5 separate regions of the Homo sapiens genome follow, and regions 2, 3, 4 and 5 are each linked to region 1. The links are contacts of gene promoters, found by promoter capture Hi-C in human tissues and cell types (Jung and others, 2019). All regions are on one chromosome and are shown on one strand. The core of a region is centred on a gene start or on the middle of the fragment in contact, and the rest is flanking DNA. Distances in the headings are between cores, read along the strand shown. Region 1 holds the start of RPL13 (ribosomal protein L13). Region 2 holds the start of MVD (mevalonate diphosphate decarboxylase). Region 3 holds the start of PIEZO1 (piezo type mechanosensitive ion channel component 1 (Er blood group)). Region 4 holds the start of APRT (adenine phosphoribosyltransferase). Region 5 holds the start of CBFA2T3 (CBFA2/RUNX1 partner transcriptional co-repressor 3).

Region 1 (2,771 bases), core at 1-2,500:
GTCCATTAAGGTTATCTCTGCGGAAACGCACAGGTGAACCTTAGCAGTCCCGCTTAGCTCATCACCCACAATGTTTTGGTTCTTCTCACCCCAGCAAGACCCAGGGACCGGTGTCACTGATAAAGGAGCCAAGCCTCACTGTCCCCGCGCACCAGGACGGCCAGAGAGCCGTGTACTCACAGAACTGTCTCCCTTCTTGGGGGCCGAGGGCTTCCTGGGGAAGAGGATGAGTTTGGAGCGGTACTCCTTCAGCCGCTGCACGTTGGCCTGCAGGGACTCCGTGGACTTGTTCCGCCTCCTCGGATCCACAGAAATGCCGATGGTCCGGGCCACCTTCTTGTGAATGCCGGCCACCTGCCCCAGAACCAGAGAGAGATGGAGACAGGCCCGGGCTTTCTCCAGCCCCGAGGCCTGGATGAAAAGCCTCAGCAATCAGATGGAAAAGGGTTCAAATGTGCTTTCATCAAGGCCGTACAGCGATTCCGGAGAATGTCATCACGCGACTGAGGCCAACAGAGGGGACTTCGGGGCCTTCCTGACACCGCAGCGCTGCCAGTACTCACCCTGAGCTCCTCCAGGCTGAAGCCGCGGCCGGCGCGCACCTTCGTGTGGTACCGAACCGTGGGGCAGCGCACGATGGGCCGGATGGGACCCGACGCGGGGCGCGGGGCGATGCGGCGCGCCTTGGCTTGCCGGGCCTTACGTCTGGTGGAGAGAAGCGCAGCGGCGGTCACCCTTGCCTAAGGCCGCCAGGCCAGCGCTCCGCGACGGTTGCAGACAGCGCCCCCCGCCCTGGCATCGGCCACCCGCAAGCCAAGGCGCAGCCGCGGGCACGAGCCCCAGGGGCAGCCCCGAGCGCAGGGCTCACCTGCGGATCTTACGGGCCGGCTGGTTGAACCACGTGGCCACGCGCCGCTGCCAGTCCTTGTGGAAGTGGGGCTTCAAGACCATGCCATTCCGGCTGGGCGCCATGGCTGCCTACGGCCCTGCGGCTGCGGACGAGAGGGGAGCGAGTGAGAGGCCGGACCCCGGGCGCGCGCACCCCCCCGGGCCTCCGCCCCGAACCCTCCAGACTGGGCCGTCCGGCCGCGCCTAGAGCCCGGGCAGCGGCCGAACGCTGTCTGCGAAGAAGAAGGGGCCCATCCACTCCCGCGTTGGCTGAAGCGCCAGGCCGATGGCGCTGGATGATGCCCAAAGGCCAGGACCCAGTCTCCCTCACCTCCTGCGCAGGAAAACAGCCGAGCGGAAAGGAAGCGGCCCCGCAATGCACTCTGGGATGATAGCAGGGCCGGCCAACCAGAAGCGCCGGGCGCTCTGACCAATCAGAGCCCCGAAAGGAGGAACTGACGTCGCCGCGGCTCTCCCGGCAGCCCTAGGGCCGCCGTCGCAGACATGTTGCCGCTGAGAATGCGGCGGGGCGGCCGTGATTCCTGGGCCCTGAGTAACCGACGGCCGGACTTGCTTGACGTCCGCCGTTACTGCCCCGGCGCTTCAGCCGCTGCGCGGGCCGCGGCCGAGTCCTGTCTTGCGGGCTAACGCGCGCGAGTCCGGTATCTGGGCCGACGGCGAACGGGCGACGCCCGAGGAATTCTGTTTGTTCACATTTGTGAGACACGTTTGCAGCGCAAAGGCAGAAAAACTTCAGTGACATCCGAGTTTGCGCAACCTAAGGCCTTCGTCCTTGTCGTTCCAGCGTTTATTCTCCTCCCATCCATTTAGAACATTTGTGGTTTTTTTTTTTGTTTTTTTTTTTTGGAGACGGAGTCTCGCTCCGTCGCCCAGGCTGGAGTGCAATGGCGCGATCTCGGCTCACTGCAGCCTCCGCGTCCCAGGTTCAAGCAATTCTGCCTCAGCCTCCCGAGTAGCTGGGATTACAGGCGCCCGCCGCCACACCCTGCTAATTTTTGGTATTTTAGTAGACGGAGTTACTGTTGGCCTCTGTCGCTTTCCCTTGGCCCAGGATTAGGTGACTTCTCTAAGGTCAGGGGTACCCGACTGAAAATGTCACACTCTGACCTGCTGTGCCTACTGCCTTCCTTCACAAAGAAAAGCATCAACAAAAAGCCATCTCTTCTCTAGTATAAGTCTGTGAAGGCACCATCCATCTTACTGCTACCTGGAAACCTTTAAATCCCAATAACCCTCTTTCTTCCCTACCCTCACCCAATCACCACGCTTCCTCCTGGTAAAACTTATTATTATTTTTTTTTTTTGAGACGGAGTCTCCCTCTGTTGCCCAGGCTGGAGTTCAGTGGTGCGATCTCTGTTCACTGCAAGTTCTGCCTCCCGGGTTCACGCCATTCTCCTGCCTCTGCCTCCCAAGTAGCTGGGACTACAGGCGCCCACCATCACGCCCAGCTGATTTTTTGTATTTTTAGTACAGACGGGGTTTCACTGTGTTAGCCAGGATGGTCTCGATCTCCTGACCTCGCGATCCGCCCGCCTGGGCCTCCCAAAGTGCTGGGATTACAGGCGTGAGCCACCGTGCCTGGCCAACGTAATCCACATTTTAAGAATTTCACAGTTCCAGCACTTTGGGAGGCTGAGGTGGGCGGATCAGCCGAGGTCAAGAGTTTGAGATCACCCTGGCTAAGATGGTGAAACCCTGTCTCTACTAAAAATACAAAAAAGCTGGGCGTGGTGGCGCATGCCTGTAATCCTAGCTACTTAGGAGGCTGAGTCACCAGAATTGCTTGAACTGGGGAGGCAGAGGTTGCAGTGAGCCAAGATCACATTACTGCACTCTAGCCTGGGCAACAGAGCAAGACTCA
Region 2 (2,771 bases), core at 110-2,609, 900 kb after region 1:
TGCACCACACGCCCACCTAATTATTGTATTTTTAGTAGAGACAGGGTTTCACCATGTTGGCCAGGCTGGTCTCAAACTCCTGACCTCGTGATCCGCCCACCTCGGCCTCCCAAAGTGCTGGGATTACAGGTGTGAGCCACCATGCCCAGCCAATCTGAGCTATTTAAAAACTAAAGGTAAAATTTTAAAAGGGGAAGGGGAAAATGGGAAGTCATTGTTTTAAGGGGACAGAGTTTCTGTTTGGGGTGAGAAAACTCTAGAAATAGTGGGGGCGTGGCACATGATTGGAATGAATGGCAGGGAACGGCACGCTTAAATGTTCCTGTACGTTTCACAGGAGAAGTCAATGCACACACAAGCGCCGCAACCCAGTCCAAGGCTTTGCTCCTACAGGGCCTTACAGGGGGTATTTGAGACGCCCACCTTAATGCAGGTTGGACCCAGCTCCGGGCTGCGGGGCTTCCCCGCCCCGGGGTCTTTCGTGTGAGCCCCGTGGCGGGGGATCCTGGCCCAGGACATGGCGCGGAGAAGGCTGTGGGCGGCGGGACAGGGTGCCTTCGGCTGCCGGGTTAAGAGTGGATCCCGGGATACATCCTCCAGCGCCTGCCCTCGGGCCTGTGTGCACCCCCATACCCAGCGGGGCCGTCCAAGAGCTTCAAGGAGGGCACAGCGCGACCCGCCCTCCCCTCAGCCCCGCACACCGTCCCACGGCCCCGCACAGCCTCCCTCCCACACAGCGCCCCACGGCACCCGCACAGCGCCCCACGGCCCCTTCATGGTCCCCGCACAGCGCCTCACAACCCGCACACAGCGCCTCACGGACCCTTTACGGCCCCCGCAGAGTCTCCCACACGGCGCCCCACACAGAGCCTCACGGACCCCGCACAGCGCCTCAAGGTCTCCGCACAGCCCCCAGCACAGCGCCTCACACAGCCCTTCGCACAGCCCCCCGCACAGCTCCTCACGGGCCCCACACAGCTGCCGCACAGCCCCGCACAAGCCCGCACAGCACCAGCAGACAGGTAGCCCCCACAGGCAACAGCGCCCACCTCGCCGCGCCCAGACCCCGGATCGCCGACGCGGACGCCAGGCGCCTGGGCACACGGCGCCTGCGCAGACAACACCACGCCCCAGGCCTGGCGAGCGCACCCTGCGGGTGGGGCGGACCTACGTCAGCAACCCATCGTCCGATCCCGTCCATTGGCTGAGAGGTAATGCGTGCGCCCGACTCGCCGCTGATTGGTCGGCGCGCGAGCAGCCGGGCTCGCACGGGCCAATCCTGTGGTAGCGCGTGAGGAGGCAGAGGCCTCTGGGGTGGGATCGCGGGCCGTAAGTGGCTGTGGAGCTGGGGTCACTGCGCGGTGGGACCATGGCCTCGGAGAAGCCGCTGGCGGCAGTCACTTGTACAGCGCCGGTCAACATCGCGGTCATCAAGTACTGTGAGTGCCGCGGGCCGGCCTGGGACGGGGATGGCCGGGAGCGAGGCCGGGTACGCGGGGGTCGCGCGCTGATTCGGCGGCGCGCTCCGTCCTGCCCTCCCAGGGCCTCGACAGACGGGGAAACTGAGGCTCAGGGAGGGGCGCGGCGGTGGTCGGGCGGGGCCGCGCGCTCCTTCGCGTGACAAGCTCGGCGCCACCCGTTCCCCCGCGACGGCTGCCGCCCCTGCAGGGTCGCCCGGCGCCTGCCCATTAGCGATTACCGAACTATCGAAATCATCAATCATCGATTCCCATGAATCGTAAGAATCCGCCGTGGTGGTGCGCGTTTGTGGCTCCAGCTACTCGGGAGGCTGAGGCGGGAGGATGGCCAGAGCCCGGGAGGTCGAGGCTGCAGTGAGCGGAAATCGCGCCACTGCTCCCCCAGCCCGAGACCCTGTGTCCCTCCCTCGCCCCGTTTCTCCCAGCGGTAACCTCCAAGGAGCGGTAATGGGGGGCCCGCAGGCCCACATCCGTGCCGGGGAGGCCGGTCCGCACCTGTGCGTTCACAGCCCCGCCCCTCCCCTCGCGCCGGGGTTACCTGGCCGCCACTGACCACTCATTTCTGTAACGTCATTTCAAAATGTTCTGAAACTGGAATCGCAGTTATGTGGCCCACCCAGTATCTTTTGAGTTTGGCTTATTTCATTCAGCATAGAATGTGGACGTGCCCCGGGATTGTATCAGTGCTTTGCCCCTCTGTTGCTGAGCCAGTCCGTGGAATCCATGGACCACCCTCTCTCTAGCCAAGGCCTCACCCCGCAAAGAGCATCTAACGTTTTCTTTCTTTCTTTCTTTTCTTTCCAGAAGCCGCCACCACGACTGGCTAATTTTTTTGTGTTTCCCTTACCAATAAAGCTGCCATAAAATGTTGTATACAGGTTTTTGTGTGAACATACATTTCCATTCTTCTGGGATAAATGCCCAGGAGTGCGGTTGCTGGGTCAGATGGTAGATATATATATATGCCTCTCTGTCTCTCTCTCTCTTTCTATGTATATATGTATGTTTGTGTGTGTGTATATATATATACACCTGTATAGATATATGTGTGTGTATATGTATACACCTATATAGATGTATGTGTGTGTATATATACATATATATATTATATATATACTTTTTTTTTTTAAAGAAACTGTCTAATTGTTTTTCAGAGTGGCTGGGCCATTTTGCATCCCTACGGTGATGCAGATTTTCCGCATCCTCACCAGCATTTGGTGGAGTTGCTGTTTTTCATTTTAGCCGCGTCCTGGTAGGGATGTGCTGGCAGGGTGCTGTGGTCCTCATTCGCGT
Region 3 (2,771 bases), core at 165-2,664, 780 kb after region 1:
CCATCACGCCCGGCTAATTTTTGTATATTTATTTATTTATTTATTTATTTATTTATTTATTTATTGAGACGGAGTCTGGCTCTGTCGCCCAGGCTGGAGTGCAGTGGCGCTATCTCGGCTCACTGCAAGCTCCGCCTCCTGGGTTGATGCCATTCTCCTGCCTCAGCCTCCCGAGTAGTTGGGACTACAGGAGCCCGCCACCACGCCCGGCTAATTTTTTATGTTTTTAGTAGAGATGGGTTTTCACCGTGTTAGCCAGGATGGTCTCGATCTCCTGACCTGGTGATCCACCCGCCTCGGCCTCCCAAAGTGCTGGGATTACAGGCGTGAGCCACCGCGCCCGGCCTAATTTTTGTATTTTTAGTAGAGACGGGGTTTCACCATGTTGGCCAGGCTGGTCTCGAACTCCTGACGTCAAGTGATCCCCCGACCCCCTACCCCCTTGCCTCAGCCCCGCAAAGTGCTGGGATTACAGGCCTGAGCCACTGCCCCGCCATCTTTTTTTTTTTTTTTTTTTTTTGAGCTGGAGGGTGTGGGCTTGTGCTGGGCTCTCATGAGTTGCCAGTGCCTTGAGGCTCAGTGGCCACAGTCCCCCCAGCCCCACTCCCTGCCTTACGCAGCTGAGTTTGAGAGCCATGAACTGAGCCCAATTAAACGGTGTAGAGCCCTTTGCCCTCTTTCTGTGCCCATCTCAAGGGCAGACGAAGGCCAAACTGACGTGGCCTGGGTGAGGGTCCCGAACACCCTGGACTCAGACCCTACCTCTCCGTGGCAGGGCGCCGCGGCAGCAGGTGCACAGGCCGTGGCTCTCACTCTCACCGTCTCACGCCAGAGCGACCCGGGCAAAGCCGCGCGCGGTGGCCGGCGTGGCTGGGAGCAGCCCCCGAGCCCCCGTCAGACCAACGCGGATCGCGGCACTGCTGCGACCCGAGCATCCCGCGTGCTCCCTCCGGGACCACTAGGCCCGGCCGCCGCGGGAACTCCGAGCCTCCCCACGGTCCCCAGGGGGCGCTGCGTGCTCGCGCCTCGGGGAGCAAAGCGAAAGTCGCTCGGGCACGCGGGGTGCAGTTGCGCGTGGGGCGCTGCCTGGGGGAGCCAGAGGCCCCGGGACCCCTTATGTAGCGCCCGGGCCCCAGCCGCAGCCCACCCAGCGAGAAGCGCCCCTGCCCACCGCCGCGCACGCTCGGAGCCGCGGGGCCAAGACTGCGGGAGGGGAGGGGTCCGCTCCGGGCCAGCGCCAGTCGGGGGTCTCCAGGCCCCAACGCACCAGGGCGGGCCGGAGGCGGGACGGGCCGCGCGGGACAGCGGAGGGGGTGCCTGGGCGCGCCGGGCCGTCGGGGAAGCGCGGAGGCGGGCACGCCGGGGAGGGCGGGAGGGGGCCGAGCTTATAAAGGCCCGCGGGCGGAGGAGGGCGGGAGCCGCCGTCCGGCCCAGCTCGGCCCCAGTGAGCCGAGCGCTGCGCTCCGCCGAGGGGCAGGGCGGTCGCCTGAGCGAGCGCGGGCCCGGGACGTCGGCACCGGCGGGGCGGCCGAAGGAGAAGGAGGAAGAGGAGAAGGCGGCGCGCGGGTCCCCGCGGGTCAGCCATGGCGCGCCGGCCCCGGGGCCCCCGCACCGCCCCATAGCGCCGCGGCGTCCGCTCGGTCTGGGCCGGGCCCTGGGCCCTCCAGCCATGGAGCCGCACGTGCTCGGCGCGGTCCTGTACTGGCTGCTGCTGCCCTGCGCGCTGCTGGCTGGTGAGTGGGGGGCGGGCGCCTGGGGGCGACGGGAGGGGGCTGCGTCTCGGCTCCCCACGGCCTGGACACCGGACGACGCCGGCCGGGGCGAGGGCTGCGGGCGAGCGGGCGCGGAAATTCCCAGGGACGCGCGACCCGGGCGCCCGCATTCCTGAAGCATGAGCGCGCCAGGCGGCGGCGGGGCTCCTGTCCCAGGGCCGGGCTGGAAGGGCGGCGGCGGCTGGGGGAGACGGCACCGCGTGCCCACGGGGGCGGTCGAGCGAGCGCCGGGCATAGCGCGGCTGGCGTCTCCGCCGGGGCGCTGCGGAGAGGAGGCCGCCGGGCGAGGCGGTGTTTGCCCCGGTGGGAAGGGCCGCGGCGGTGGTGGGGGGAGCACGAATCTCTTTTTCTCTTTCGGGTTTAAAAAAAAAAGCGCAAAGTTGCATCAGGACTTCCTGACAATCTGGGAGAAGGCGGGCTTCCTGCCTGGAGCTGTTTAATTTGGAGCTTCCCGAGCCCAACGAACGTCCGTGCCCAGGGCCCAGCCCCGCTCACCGCTGCACCCCCCTCTGCCGGACTGAGGCGGTCCCACACTTTGGAAAAAAATAGTGTGGGTTCCTCCCTGGTCCTCCCTTGCCCTACTGGGCTCAGTTTCGCAGGGGCGGGGGCCGGCCTCTGCCCTGGTCTGGGGGAGGGGACACCCCCGGAGGCTGTGGCCTGGTGTCAGGGCGGGGCAGGGGTCCCCAGTCCTGGCATCTGTGTTCCCTGCTTGCCGGGCAGTGGTGCCCCTTTCGCGAAGCACACCCGGGTGGCTTGGTGCTGCACGGCCTGGCACCCCTACCCTTCCCCGACCCTGGCCTAGCCGGGACCCAGGGTCCGCGCCCTCCGCCCGGGGGCTCCCCACGTGTGATTGATCTGGGAAGCAGTCGGATGGAATTAACCCACGGACAAGTGGGACGGTTTGCATTGGGAGTCCGCCATGGACACGGCAGGTGGGGCCTTTTGATTGTAAAAGCCCTTTCGGAGCCCTTGCCTCGCTCCAGGTGGGAGCTCGCCCAG
Region 4 (2,771 bases), core at 272-2,771, 750 kb after region 1:
TCGGGCCATCTGGGAGACAGAATCAGGAACAAGGAAGGGGAAGGCGGAGGCCTCCTGGGCTGGACGTGGACGGCTGAAGTGTAGCTCACACACTTGGACCGGTGGGGCCGGCTCATGTGGCAGCTTCCCCGGGGACGTGAGGATGTCAGGGTCCTCCATTTCCACCTTCCCTAGGGGTCTGGAGCCCAGGCCCCAGGCCTTGCCAGCCCTGACCACCGCACACTGCGAGGCAGCCGCCCCTACCACGCCCCTTGGCATCAGACGATGGGTCCCCCACCCGCCCTGGAACCGGGGCCCCAGCAGCCGCATGCAGCCTCCGGCCTCCCCCTCCGAAGGCTCCTGGGGGCTGCCTTCCACTGAGTGGGTTTTCCCTTCTGCAGTAACTGCCAGGCCAAAGCTGAATTGTAAAAGTTGCGAAATGATGGGCCGGGCGCGGTGGCTCACGCCTGTAATCCCGGCACTTTGGGAGGCCGAAGCGGGCAGATCACGGGGTCAGGAGATCGAGACCATCCTGGCTAACACAGTGAAACTGCGTCTCTACTAAAAATACAAAAAATTAGCAGGGCGTGGTGGCGGGCTCCTGTAGTCCCAGCTACTCGGGAGGCTGAGGCGGGAGAATGGCCGGAACCCAGGAGGTGGAGCTTGCAGTGAGCCCAGATGGCGCCACTGTGCTCCATCCTGGGCGACAGAGCGAGAGTCCTTCTCAAAAAAAAGTTGCGAAATGAAGAAAAGTCTTGGAATAGAGCACAAGGCATTTTAGCTCTGGGGATTTTCTTGAAAGGAAATTGTGTTTGGGGGGAGTTATGCCTCACACAACCCCCTGGGTACCAGTCCTCGGGCGGCCAGGGGGTTCACAGCTCCCCACCCCAAGGCTAAGGGGTCACCTGGCCTCTGCAGGCGGACAGAAGGGCTTCTGCCCTCGCGGATGCGCGCCCTGGCCTGGCCACACCTTCCGGCCTCCCTCCCCCGGGTCCGGGCGGGGAAGAGCCGCCTCAACGGCAGGGCCCATCCGCGAGAGGCCAGCGCCCCCGGCCGGTCCAGCCCAGGCCCGCCGCCTCCGCCCTGGGCTGCTCCCTCCGGGCCCTGCACCGCCCTCCTGCTACTTGGACCGCTTCCTCACGCCCTTCTCCACCCCGCGCGCCAGCCTCCCGCGCGCAGCGTGGGGATCTCGGCCAATAAAGGAGAAAGGGCGCGGCCCGTACGCGCGCCAGGTGCGTGGGCGAGACCAGCTCACGCCCCTCCTCCAGCCGCCAAGGCCCCGGCCCACAGCTGCCTGGCTGCAGTCAGAAGCGTAGCCCGAGACAAGGAAGGGCGCCTTGACTCGCACTTTTGTCCGGTTCGAACGTTCTGCTCAGTGGTGCGTGGAATGCGAGCGCGTCTTAAAATCGATGGCGCCTAGGAGTCCATGAAATACGGTACAGGCTTCCGGCGACGGATGCCCCGCCCCTCACCCACGCTCCGCCCTCCGGGGATGCCCCACCCCTCGTGGCGGTCCCGCCCGTCCCCGCGCAGGCGCGCTCGGGCTGCCGCTGGCTCTTCGCACGCGGCCATGGCCGACTCCGAGCTGCAGCTGGTTGAGCAGCGGATCCGCAGCTTCCCCGACTTCCCCACCCCAGGCGTGGTATTCAGGTGCACGCACAGGCCGCCCTCGTGGCGCCCCGACCTGCGGGCCTACGGATGGGAGCGCGTGGCCCGCGACCTCCGGGCGGGCGGGGCGGGAACCCTCGTCTTTCGCCCCCGGGGCCCTGCCCTCCTTCGGCCCCGGCGTCACCAGGCCTGTCCTTGGGTCCAGGGACATCTCGCCCGTCCTGAAGGACCCCGCCTCCTTCCGCGCCGCCATCGGCCTCCTGGCGCGACACCTGAAGGCGACCCACGGGGGCCGCATCGACTACATCGCAGGCGAGTGCCCAGTGGCCGCATCTAGGGCGCTTCCGCCTCTGCGCGCGCCGAGGGCAGCACGTGGGCTCTGCGCGTCTGCTTGGGGGAGGGCCTTTGGGGTGCTTCAGGGGGCGCCGGGACGGGCGCCGTGCTTGGGTCGCCCGGGAAGGGTTGTGAGATTGAGCCCCCGAGGCCGCCGCGCTGTGCAGGCGTCCTTCCCGCAGGTTCCGGGTCCCCAGCCCAGGACAGGCGTGACCGAGTTGCCGGGTCAGTTGGTCTCCCTGGAGTGCCCAAGCTGAATCCACAGGGCCCAGCTGCCTTGCTTCTTGTTCCTTCTGCGAGCTGGTATTGAGCGCCTGCCACGAGCCAGGCCTTCCCTGGTGAAGATCACGGAATGCCCACCCAGGGAAGGGAGGCCTGGAGGCCTCCGGGAGAGCCCAAGAGGTGGCCCAGGGAGAACAGAGTGTTCCTGGCCGTCTTGCCTCTCCTAGGGTGTGACAGCCCACTCCCTGGACACTGCCCTGAGGAAAGCGCCAGCTCTTGCTGGAGCCACAACACTGCCAGAGCTCCCTTCTCACCTCCTGCAGGAAGCCCTCCCTGACCTCCTGCCAGGCCGGGGCAGGGTTTCCCTGAGCGTCCCCCAACCATCACAGCTCAGGCCACCTCGAGAGACTCCCTTTTTAGACAGAAGCCCTGGTGCAGAGCTGCCTTTGAGAGTAAGCTGAGGCCTGTCAGGTTTCTACCAGCCCAGTTACAGATGGGCTGCTCAGCTCAGAGAGAGGGGTGGTGACTCCCCTAGGAACACACAGCTAAGAAGTGGTCCCTTAAAAGACAGACCCAGGTCTGCACTCTGACCTGGAAGCAGCTCCGGGTAGGTGATGGGTAACATTCCT
Region 5 (2,771 bases), core at 150-2,649, 580 kb after region 1:
TAGGAGCTGACGCCGTTAGGATCGTGCACCCTGCACAAATGAGGAAACCAGGAGGGTCAGGGCCCCCAGGACCCTCACTGTGAATCCCACCCTGAGCCAGAGCACAGGGAACAGCAGGGGACGTGGGGACCGAATGATGGCACCAGGGGATGGGCCCCGGGCTGGCAGGAATGTCCCCTCCAGCCTCAGTCCTGGGGGCAGAACGGCCGACCACCCAGGGCAGGGGAGGCCCCGGGTGGGCCTGGCGTCTGGGAAGTTCCCCAGCAGGAACAAACACATCCCCACTGTAAGCTGGACACACACGCTGGCATGCAGCTTGTTGTCACCAACTCGAGAAAGACACTCGACTATTGGGACAGGGAGACCCGGGACACCTGGAGACCCTGCGGGGAAGGAGTCGGCTTTTACTCCTGCACGGCTTGAATTATTAACTGCGTGCAAACGTGACCTAAAACTCAAATCAAATCAAATCAAAATAGCACAGATGCCCGTGAGCCGGCCCTGGGTCTGCGGGCTCCACACCTCTGGCCTGTCTGAGGCCGGGAAACCTCCAGCCATGGCATCAGAAAAGCCACCGAACCAGGGCTGCAGGGCCGAAGGGTCACTGTCCCCTCCCAGGAAGCTCCTGCCCTCTGACAGTTGTCAGGGAGCTTTAGAAAGTGGCTTTTTTTCCCAGCATCTGGGATGTGCCTCACTCTCTCAGCCCAACGGCCGCTAGAAAGGGGTCCTAGGACTCTCCCTAGGGTCTAAGTAGTCCCAAGAGTGCTCTGAGGTGGCTTCTGGAATTTCCCAGACTGGAGAAGCCACCTACCCCCGACCCCCGCAAACTCCAGGCTGCTCACCGGAGGCGGCCGCTGGGGCGTGGGGTGAGGGTCTTTCTGAGGCACCCCCGGAGAGTGGGGGAGCCCTGCTGTCTCCACAGAGGGCCAGGAGCCCTGTGCACGAGGCCAAGCAGAGAGAGAGGGTTTCCTTCCCAGCAGGCGGGAGGTACTTTGAGGACAGGTCAGGTGCCCAAGAACCCCGGAGCAGGGGCTGAGGAGAGGCTGGTCAGAGGCCCCGCCTTGCTCAAGGGCACAGTCAGCAGACACAGGAACACGGGCAGGGTGGCCCCTGGAGCGGGGGCAAACTAAAAGGGGTGCTGGGGAAAGCTCGGCTGACTGAGGGCTAGCGGAGAGGGAGGACACCCCCAGATACCCCAGGCTGAAGGAAGGGCCAAGCCCTGGGGGGAAGATGGGTGGGCGGGACAGGCCAAGGGCTCTGGGCCAGGATGGAGCTGCCCTCAGGCCTGCACACCTGCCCTGGGGCCGAGGAAACACATGCCCAGTGGCCACGCTGTAGGGCTCAGGGTGGGTGGGACGTCACCAGAGCTGCCTGGGAGGAGGAAGTTGTTGGAAGGTCAAACCGGAATGGCCCGAGGGAAGGCCGCGCAGGGCAGGGCCCCAGATGGTTCCTGTCAGGGAAGTGGCGGGCGCAGCTGCAGGCCTCCGGCCCCGGCATTATCACGGGGACACAGCTGGCTGCCTCACCCGCAGGCTGCAGGGAGACCTTCCCCAGCCTGCAGCCCCAGGCCCGCCCCGCGTCACATGAGCCCCAGGGCTCCCACCCCCTCCCCAGGGCAGAGGACACCCAGTTGGTGGCCGGGAGGGCCTCGGCTTTCCAGGGACAGAGGCCCAACTCCAGGACGCCCCAGCTGGCCCAGCCCCTCCTCTTTCCCTCAAGGCTGCAGGAGGTCGGGAAAGGCAGTCCTGGTAGAGGCCTGTCCTGGGCTCCAGGTTGGCCCCTGAGGGTGGCCCTCCTCATGCCGGCTTCAAGACTGAGGGACAGGGCAGCCAGTTCAGCCTCGGGATCCACCTGTGGCTCCATGTCCCAGACGCACCCTGTGCTGGAGAGCGGCCTCCTGGCATCTGCCGGCTGCTCCGCACCCCGGGGTCCCAGGAAGGGCGGCCCAGGTAAGAGGCTCGAGGGGAAGGTGGTGGGGTGGGGGCAGAGAGCGGCAGCCGGTGCCGGGGCTGTGACTCCTTAGAGCTTCGCGGGGCCTGCCCAGCTTAGTTGACAGTGCCGGCACGGATGGCCGTGTTGACTCACCTCAGATATCAACAGGGCCACCCCACAGGCAGGTCCTGCACAGCTGGGGCAGGTGGGCTGGTGAGGGTTTGGCAGGTGCCAGCCAGGTGCCCCAGCCCCACCCAGAGGCAGATGCTGGAGGCCGGGCTGCTCAGCCCCGTCTAGGAGGGTGGGCTGTGTTCTCCTGGGGGTGGGAGGGCCGCAGCCGGGAAGTGATGGGGGGGTCCTAGAAAGAGAGCCCTCCTCCTCCTGGGATGCCCTCCGGGTGTGACACCTCACAGCAGGTTGGATGAGGAAACTGAGGCCAGAGGGGAGGGCACTGGCCCAAGACCCCGGTGAGGAGGAAATGGACCCAACCCTGGGCCCCTGTCCGAGGAACGATTCCAGCCAGGGCAGTGGGGGTTTACGGGGAACCTGGGCCTGCCCTTCTGGGGGCTTCGGGCTCTGGGGAGGGGTCCAGTCCAGCAGGACGCCAGCTATTGCTGATACCCCCCACCCGAGCCTGCGAAGTCCCAGGACAAGGATCCCCGGACGCTGGGGGCTGCAGCTGCAGGCTGGTGGCCCCGATTCCCAGTGGCCCTCGTGGCCACACTCCCAGCAGCCGTCGGAACCTTCAGGAGCTCACAGTCTCCCGTCTCGCGGGGCTCTCACTGAGGCCGTCAGGTCCAAGGTCTGACTGCACCCCTGACACTCACACACAGAACCCG

What was found. The method cuts DNA at HindIII sites, captures the fragments that hold promoters and counts their contacts. A contact is called where the count stands out against the background at its distance.
Region 2: a contact is called between the fragment with the promoter of MVD here and the fragment with the promoter of RPL13 in region 1, in 2 of the 25 tissues and cell types used here (adrenal gland and lymphoblastoid cells).
Region 3: a contact is called between the fragment with the promoter of PIEZO1 here and the fragment with the promoter of RPL13 in region 1, in 3 of the 25 tissues and cell types used here (dorsolateral prefrontal cortex, lymphoblastoid cells and spleen).
Region 4: a contact is called between the fragment with the promoter of APRT here and the fragment with the promoter of RPL13 in region 1, in 1 of the 25 tissues and cell types used here (spleen).
Region 5: a contact is called between the fragment with the promoter of CBFA2T3 here and the fragment with the promoter of RPL13 in region 1, in 2 of the 25 tissues and cell types used here (hippocampus and lymphoblastoid cells).

Annotation. Positions count from the first base shown.
Region 1 is chr16:89,559,161-89,561,931 of GRCh38, reverse strand. It overlaps RPL13 (ribosomal protein L13), which reads right to left and starts at 1,250. Exons shown (of 6, transcript NM_000977.4): 1 at 1,220-1,250; 2 at 869-992; 3 at 564-705; 4 at 181-354. The coding sequence starts at 972. It overlaps SNORD68 (small nucleolar RNA, C/D box 68), which reads right to left and starts at 502; the gene lies at 431-502. RefSeq lists silencers at 668-717, 778-1,047, 2,589-2,771 and an enhancer at 1,158-1,267. The HindIII fragment of the contact is 11,945 bases long and covers 1-2,771 here.
Region 2 is chr16:88,661,679-88,664,449 of GRCh38, reverse strand. MVD (mevalonate diphosphate decarboxylase) reads left to right here and starts at 1,359. Exons shown (of 10, transcript NM_002461.3): 1 at 1,359-1,439. The coding sequence starts at 1,370. It overlaps SNAI3-AS1 (SNAI3 antisense RNA 1), which reads right to left and starts at 1,077. Exons shown (of 4, transcript NR_024399.1): 1 at 1,050-1,077. RefSeq lists silencers at 695-854, 1,195-1,614 and an enhancer at 1,065-1,114. The HindIII fragment of the contact is 7,255 bases long and covers 1-2,771 here.
Region 3 is chr16:88,783,863-88,786,633 of GRCh38, reverse strand. It overlaps PIEZO1 (piezo type mechanosensitive ion channel component 1 (Er blood group)), which reads left to right and starts at 1,414. Exons shown (of 51, transcript NM_001142864.4): 1 at 1,414-1,733. The coding sequence starts at 1,670. RefSeq lists silencers at 916-1,245, 1,286-1,765, 2,266-2,585 and an enhancer at 1,270-2,183. The HindIII fragment of the contact is 3,328 bases long and covers 1,221-2,771 here.
Region 4 is chr16:88,810,678-88,813,448 of GRCh38, reverse strand. It overlaps APRT (adenine phosphoribosyltransferase), which reads left to right and starts at 1,521. Exons shown (of 5, transcript NM_000485.3): 1 at 1,521-1,629; 2 at 1,793-1,899. The coding sequence starts at 1,550. RefSeq lists enhancers at 1-461, 462-1,146, 2,652-2,771 and silencers at 859-1,118, 1,369-1,768. The HindIII fragment of the contact is 27,772 bases long and covers 1-2,771 here.
Region 5 is chr16:88,975,835-88,978,605 of GRCh38, reverse strand. It overlaps CBFA2T3 (CBFA2/RUNX1 partner transcriptional co-repressor 3), which reads left to right and starts at 1,399. Exons shown (of 12, transcript NM_005187.6): 1 at 1,399-1,949. The coding sequence starts at 1,799. RefSeq lists enhancers at 978-1,027, 2,730-2,771. The HindIII fragment of the contact is 13,654 bases long and covers 1-2,771 here.